Regions from separate parts of the Homo sapiens genome. Here region 2 is linked to region 1. The links are contacts of gene promoters, found by promoter capture Hi-C in blood cells and fetal thymus (Javierre and others, 2016). All regions are on one chromosome and are shown on one strand. Each heading gives the region's core, a stretch centred on a gene start or on the middle of the fragment in contact. The rest is flanking DNA. Distances are from core to core; before and after follow the strand shown.

Region 1 (4,016 bases), core at 974-3,473:
GCTTTGTGTTTGTGATGTTGACCTCTTGACATGTGATACCAGTGTATAGTAGTATTATGTAAGTTATTTTCCACCTCTTTCAGAAAAACCGTTTTGTTATCTATTGATACCTTTGTTAATTAGTCTCAAAGACTTTTAATGTTGTCTATAGTGTTTTTCATGTATTGAGTGCAAAAAGCAGGAAATAGAAAATGAAGAATCAGCCAAGAGCCTTGTTTGTTTGTTTAGTTTGGTTTGGTTTTCTTTATGCTTTTACTGTAGGTATGTCTGGAAAAATCAAATTAAATGGAATGAGCTTGACTCATGAGGAGGCCCCTTTCATTTTCCTGAAGTGAATTAATACAGCACCCACCGATCCTGACATTAGTTATTTCAGAAGCACACTAAGAACTGACCGCACTTCTCAGTGTCACCAAACTATTCTTATCTGTCAAAGTTTCATTTCAAATACTTCTGTAAGGTCTAGGTGTACCCTGCTGGTGTTTGTGATGTCCTACATTACTCTTGATCTACTTTTCAACTATGAAACAAGGGAAAAATTGGAGGTCCAGAGCTCAGGATTCAGATATTATTACCTCTGCTACTCACAGCAGAGCAAGTAACTTAGCCTGTGTGGAACTTCATTTTTCTTTCTTTTTTTTCTTTTTTTTTTTTTTTTTTTTAGACAGAGTCTTGCTCTGTCACCCAGGCTGGAGTGCAGTGGCACGATCTCGGCTCACTGCAACCTCTGCCTCCCAGGTTCAAACAATTCTCCTGCCTCAGCCTCCAGAGTAGCTGGGGTTACAGGTGCACGCCAGCAAGCACAGCTAAATTTTGTATTTTTAGTAGAGATGGGGTTTTGCCATGTTGGCCAGGCTGGTCTCAAACTCCTGACCTCAGGTGATCCACTCCCAAAGTGCTGGGATTATAGGCGTGAGCCACTGTGCCAGGCCCACTGTTTTTGTTTTTTTTTTTCGTGATGACAAATTTAAAGTCATCTCATAGGAATAGAAAATAGCTTTTTAGTAGAAGCTCTTGGAATTTAAATTGAGACTGAATGGAAAGATGAAAGAAAATAAACTTATTAACATTTAATGAGAACCTTCAAAGAACTAGGCATAGTACCAAATGGTTTTATATTTTTAAACCTCATTTATTCCTCTCAAAACACCTGGGAAGGAGATATTTTTGCCATTTCACAGCTGTTGAAACTGAGGCTCAAAAAGACTAAGTAACTTTTCTCAGCTACACATGTGGCTGAGCCAGTATTTGAACCCAGTTCTGTTTGCAGACAGAACCTGGGCTTTTTCACACCTGCAAACTGGAAACATTAATTGGTTCTTAAGATCATCATCGATGTGATAAAACCTGGGACAGAAATTAGTCAAGACTAGCTGCATCTGCCTTTTCCTCTGGTGGGTAGGAAAAGGAGGAGTATAATGATTTCCTCAGGCATGAAGGTCGATGATGAGCAAAGTGTATACTCTCTAATCTAATGTCATAATTCATATTGTGGAGTAATTATCTGGATAAGTGTAGGGTCTCTGACCTCATTCTAGATATTGTACATTCCATGGCTATTTTCATTTTGGTCCATGAACTCTCTTTGCTCTCATGAGCACCATTTTTATCCCAATCTAATCCTGTATGTTTGTGTTTTTACACAGATTAGTTTTTAAATGTTATATATAATTTGCTTCTGAAACACCATTGCTCAATGACTACCAAATCTTTCTCATTACCAAAATCCTTCTATGCCAACTTCTTCAAGAAATTTGATCACCTTTAGATGAATTGTTAATGAAAATTAAAGCTATAGCCGGCAACATGGGTATCTTTGGGCTAATGGCCAACCAACAGGCCATCTGTGTGAAAGAAAACAGGCTAACAATTTTGGACTCTGGTCTCTTGGGGCTACATTGAGCATTGACCTCACCGGTGCTCACTGAAATTAATTGCTTTTCAGGTTGTATTTTCTCATCACGGAAACCTTCTTCTCCCAATTCAAACCATGTGGGTTAAAATGAGAAAACAAAAGCCAAAACGGCTTCCCACACCCAAAAGCTCCTTCTGTCAGAGATCCCAGTAGCCCCGGGAGAGCTGTTAGAAGTCTGAGAAGGATTGGTCATCATCGCATACCATACATAGGTGGAGGGCTTGTTATTCTCAGTTTCCCGCCTATGAGAGGATACCCCTATTGTTTCTGAAAATGCTGACCGGGACCCACACTTCCAACAAAAATTCCTCTGCCCCTACAGCAGCAGCAAAAGCAGCAGCAGAAGCAACAGCAACAGATAAGTGTTTTGATGAATTGCGAGATGGATAGGGCTTGAGTGCCCCCAGCCCTGCTGATACCAAATGCCTTTAAGATACAGCCTTTCCCATCCTAATCTACAAAGGAAACAGGAAAAAGGAACTTAAAACTCCCTGTGCTCAGACAGAAATGAGACTGTTACAGCCTGCTTCTGTGCTGTTCCTTCTTGCCTCTAACTTGTAAACAAGACGTAGTAGGACGATGCTAATGGAAAGTCACAAACCGCTGGGTTTTTGAAAGGATCCTTGGGACCTCATGCACATTTGTGGAAACTGGATGGAGAGATTTGGGGAAGCATGGACTCTTTAGCCAGCTTAGTTCTCTGTGGAGTCAGCTTGCTCCTTTCTGGTAAGGTTTGGCTTTATTTTTTTTAATTTAGTATTTTAAAAAACAGAGTTAGTGATTTCTGGGTGCTCTCCCCAAATCTCATCAGTGCTGATGAACAAGGGGTGGCTGTAGCAAAGGCACCATTTCTCTGTGAGTCTCCAGTCAATATGTGTGGAAGGATTGAAATGCAAAGGCTCTGTGGCATGAACTGATTTTGCTAGTTTGTCTTCTGGGTGATTGGCCCCTGTGTTAGAAACTCTTTGAGGACCGATTAAATCATCTTATTTGAAGAGATCCCCTTACTATCATGCATTATTTTCCTGCTCCTCATTCTGGAGTGTTTTTCTTATTGATTTTTTTTTTAAAGAACAAACCGGTTTTACCTGCTTTAAAGAAAATCTTCAGTAAAAAATGAAATTCATGCTGAGAAATACAGGGGCCCAATTAAGGCAGTGTATAGATTGTCACTGTTAAAAGGGAACAAAGATGCTTTTCTGTAAAAAGATTTTATATCTACATCCTATTTTAAGCAAAGCAATGAAATTGTAGGCTTTTTTTTTTTTCTTGTAGTTAGGGTCAGGGAGATTGGGGCTATTAGAATTTTTGTTTTATTTTAAAAAATGTTTGCCATGTAGTAATTCATAAAGGGTTTACTGGCCCAATGAAACAAAAATTTAGGCAGTTACCAAAATCTTTAACACAGGAGAGTATATGAAGCCTGTTGTAGAGTGAAGGAGTGGTTGGCCAGTGTGTTGGGTTCAGCGTGTTTATTGCTTAGATACTCCAGATAGTGGTGTGCCTCTGTAGCTCACTCAGCCTATGTGACATAGGTAGAAGGCAGTATCCAAACCTGAACTACATATCACAAATACATTTATCATTGCCATCAGTCTCTCCCCTTCGGTTTGAAAACATTCTAATTTTAATAACGAAAATCGAATTGATATTGGAGATGAATTTGGGAAAATTCACTAAACTTCATGGATATAGGGCATATTAATATAATTTGATTCGAGTATACATAAGTATCTGCTATATTTTCTAGGTGTTTGAACTATTTTATTAAATATTCAAAAAACAAATCCAATGAAATAACTGAGTTGAATACAGTTTGTTTTATAGCTCTCAACAACCAATATTTTGAGAATTTAATAATATTCTTTAAGAATGTGTAACACAAGTTGCTAAAAATTAAAAGATTTTAGGTGGCTTCAGTATTTATGTGGAAATTGTTTAAATAATGTTGACTTCTCCAATAATATGTACTTCAAATAATTATCATGATTCCATTTTTGATTTTTTTTTTTCTGAGTGCCATTATTTACCAGTGACATGAAATCTGGAACTTACTCTATACCAGGGATTATAGTGATGTGAAGCCCAGGTGTCTATAGTT
Region 2 (4,016 bases), core at 1,061-3,560, 76 kb before region 1:
GGGATACTATTTTTAATAAGGATGTTTTTATCCTCAAGGCTTACTTCTAACATATAGCCAAGTGACTTTTTTGTTTTTAAATGGAGATGAATCTTGCTGTGTTGGCCAGGCTAGAGTGCAGTGACTATTTACAGGCATGATCATAGCTTACTGTGGCCTTGAACTCCTGGGCTCAAGCAGTCCTACTGCCTCAGCCTTCCAAGTAGCCGGGACTACAGGTCCATGTTACTGTGCCCAGCTTGTTTTTGTTAAGGAATCTGTTAAGAAATTCTTTTAGGTCGTGTGCGGTGGCTCACGCCTGTAGTCCCAGCACTTTGGGATGCCGAGGTGGGCGGATCACCAGGTCAGGAGATCGAGACCACGGTGAAACCCTGTCTCTACTAAAAAATACAAAAAATTAGCCGGGCCTGGTGGTGGGCGCCTGTAGTCCCAGCTACTCAGGAGGCTGAGGCAGGAGAATGGTGTGAACCCAGGAGGCGGAACTTGCAGTGAGCCAAGATCGCGCCTCTATGCTCCAGCCTGGGTGACAGAGCGAGACTCCGTCTTAAAAAAAAAAAAGAAATTCTTTTATTCTTACTACAGATTAATACTTGAGAGTTTATATCTTATATTGAAGTCCTTCAGAGTAAATAGTTTCTTCGACCACTTAGCTGAAATCAGGCCCTTAACTTTACTCATTTTTTTTTTTTTTTTTAATGAGATAGGGTCTTTCTGTCACCCAGGCTGGAGTACAGTGGTGTGACAACATAGCTCACTGCAGCCTCAAACTCCTGGGCTCAAGTGATCCTCTTGCCTTAGCTAAATAAAATAATAAATAAAATAAAATAAAATAAAATAAAATAAAATAAAATAAAATAAAATAAATAAAATAAAATGTAAAATAAAATAAAATAAAATGTAAAATAAACTCCTGAGTAGCTAGGACTACAGGTGCACACCACCATGCCCAGCTAATTGTTGAAAACTTTTTTTGTAGGGACAGGGTTTTGCTCTGTTGCCCAGGCTGATCTCAACGTGCTTGGCTCTAGCAGTCTTTCTGCCTTGGCCTCCTAAAGTGTGGGGATTACAGGTGTGAGCCACTGTGCCTGGTGTTTTACTCTTTACTAGTGTATTCCCTTACATTGAATAAATTCTATAAAGAACAGCATTACTATTATAAGACATGTCAAAGCCTTACACAAATCACAAAAAAAGTGATCAGTTTTCTATGCAAAAATACTGAGCCTTTTGAAATCAGGGTAGTTCTCAGCTTCACCCAATGCTGGCTTAGATTTCAACTTTCTCAAGTCTGCTAGGTCAGTTACCAGTTCTCCATCTCCTTTCAGCTTCCAAAATGTTATTGCTGTTGTCTCCTATTTCTATATGCTGGGGGTTTCTACCTTTAAAAATTCTTTTTGCTATAGTTTTAGTGGGGTTTGCGGGAGGATCAAAATTAGATGTGCATGTTCAACGTGCCATTCATACCAGGAAATGACAATTATAAGCCTTAATTACCTAGAATTTCTGAAACTTTAAGCACCTTGAAGGTAGATCATTTTACTTATTTTTAAAAAGATTTTTTTTGTGTGTTTTGCCTTAAATGACCATCCTCATGCTTTCATTAACTGGGCAATTAGCCTCAGCTTATAGGAGGTCATCCTTTTCAGCTTAAAAAAAAAGTGTCCTGGCCGGGTGCAGTGGCTCACGCCTGTAATCCCAGCACTTTGGGAGGCTGAGGCAGGCGGATCATGAGGTCAGGAGTTCGAGACCAGCCTGACCAACATGGTGAAACCCCATCTCTATTAAAAATACAAAAATTAGCTAGGCATGGTGGTGTGTACCTGTAATCCCAGCTACTCAGGAGGCTGAAGTAGGAGAATCGCTTGAACTCGGGAGGCAGAGGTTGCAGTAAGCCAAGATCGCGCCACTGCACTCCAGCCTTGGGCGACAGAGCAAGACTCCATCTCAAGAAAAAAAAGAAAAAAAAAAGTCTTTTAAACTACTTAAAATTATTTTAAAGATTCAGATTAATTTTTTAAAATTGTAATTTTAAATATGAATCTGGCATGTATTTAACATGAAAAATGCAAGCAGAAAAGTATATAAAGTAAAATGTCATCTCCTTTCTCCTCATCCAAGTCTTCAGAGGTAATCATGGTTTACAGTTTAATGTTTAGGCTTTTAGACTTTTAATACATTGATAAACATATTTTTAAATGGAGTAATACTAATATACAGTTCTTCTGAGCTTGAGTCTTTTCATTTAACTGTATAATATACATTCTTCCCTATGAGGATGTATACTTCATTCTGAGAAATGGTATAGCATAGTGGTCAATGTTAGGGCTCTAAAGTCAGACTTAAGAATGGTGCCTGGTACAGGTGTGGTGGCTCATGCCTATAATCCTAGCACTTTGGGAGGCTGAGGGGGGTGGATTGCTTGAGCTCAGAAGTTCGAGACCAGCCTGGGCAACAGGGCGAAAACCTGTCTCTACAAAAAAATACAAAAATTAGCCAGGCATGGTGATGTGTGTTTGACTTGTAGTCCCAGCTATTTGCTAAGGTAGGATGATTACTTGAACCTCGGAAGTCGAGGCTGCAGTAAGCCGAAATCACTCCAACCAAAATCATGCCACTGCACTTCAGCCTGGATAACAAAGTGAGACCCTGTCTCAAAAAAAAAAAAAAAAAAAAATGGTGCCTGGTGCACATTAAGCGCTTCTGACAACCATTAGCTACCCCTATGATTGTTGTTACATAGGATTCATTGTATCCACATTGATATTTAGGCTGTTTCTAATTTTTTACTCCCAAGAACAGTGCTGCACTAGTACATTCATGTTTATAACTTGTCTGTTTATTTCCACAGAATAAATTTCTAGAAGTGAAATTTTGAATGGAATATTATTTATATTTACAACTGGTTTGCAAATTTCTTCCCAGAAAAGGTTGTATTATGTTATACAACCAAAAGCAGTATGTGAAGGTGGTTCCTTACCAATGCTAGCCATAAGTTTTTTAGTTTTTGTCAGTCAAGATAAGGTACACATCACTGACAGTTCCGAAGTTTTGACTGTTAGGCCTGAATTTGTAGTACCACCGCGATCCACAAGATGGGGCTAATTTTCTGAGCATCTATTAATATATACACAGTAGGATTGACAAATAGAGTTAACAAATGTTGTACGGTCACTGTCATATGTCTCTCCAGGAGGGATTATTGGGCATTATTACTCACCAAAAATGATTACTTTCCAGATTCAAGTATTTTCCCAAATGTGGAGTTGATTGTAAAACCAAATATATGATTATTAAAATACCATAATACATATAAATAACTAGTTGCTACAATGTGGTAAATATGTCATAATAGAAATATATGCAAAGTGCTATAGGAATATTGAATTACTGTCTTAAATTCTGAATGAATTCATTGTAACTTTCTGCATAATATATATGTGTCATTCAAAGTAGTAAAATAACAAAATATAATACTTTGGTTTGTCTATAGTATACTTTTTCATACTCAGAGTTCTAAAGCCTTGGTTAGGACCATTGTTTCTTTAATTATGGAGGGTAAAATAAACAATGTTAAAGACAGAATACTTTTATTTATTATTTATTTGTTTATTTATTTATGTATTTTGAGACGGAGTTTTTCTCTTGTGGCCCAGGCTGGAGTAAAATGGTGTGATCTTGACTTACCGCAACCTCCACCTCTCAGGTTCAAACAATTCTCCTACCTCAGCCTCCCAAGTAGCTGGGATTACAGGCATGCGCCACCACACCTGGCTAATTTTTTGTATTTTTAGTAGAGATGGGGTTTCTCCATGTTGGTCAGGCTGGTCTCAAACTCCTGACCTCAGGTGATCTGCCTGCCTTGGCCTCCCAAAGTGTTGGGATTACAGGCGTGAGCCACCACGCCTGGCCAGAATCATTTTATTTTAAGCACATGTCCTGTTACTAGAATGCCTGGATTCAAATCCAGGCTGTGCTGTTTGATCTTGGACATGCTATTTATGCTATTTAATCTTACT

The links. The method cuts DNA at HindIII sites, captures the fragments that hold promoters and counts their contacts. A CHiCAGO score of 5 or more calls a contact.
Region 2: a contact is called between a fragment that was not itself captured here and the fragment with the promoter of TEK in region 1, in 1 of 17 cell types (endothelial precursors). The highest score is 6.7, in endothelial precursors.

The regions. Positions count from the first base shown.
Region 1 is chr9:27,107,002-27,111,017 of GRCh38, forward strand. TEK (TEK receptor tyrosine kinase) reads left to right here and starts at 2,224. Exons shown (of 23, transcript NM_000459.5): 1 at 2,224-2,641. The coding sequence starts at 2,590. The HindIII fragment of the contact is 9,085 bases long and covers 1-4,016 here.
Region 2 is chr9:27,030,921-27,034,936 of GRCh38, forward strand. All of the region lies in intron 13 of IFT74 (intraflagellar transport 74), which reads left to right. Among named protein-coding and RNA genes, the nearest start is that of LRRC19, 27 kb to the left of the region's middle. The HindIII fragment of the contact is 6,282 bases long and covers 1-4,016 here.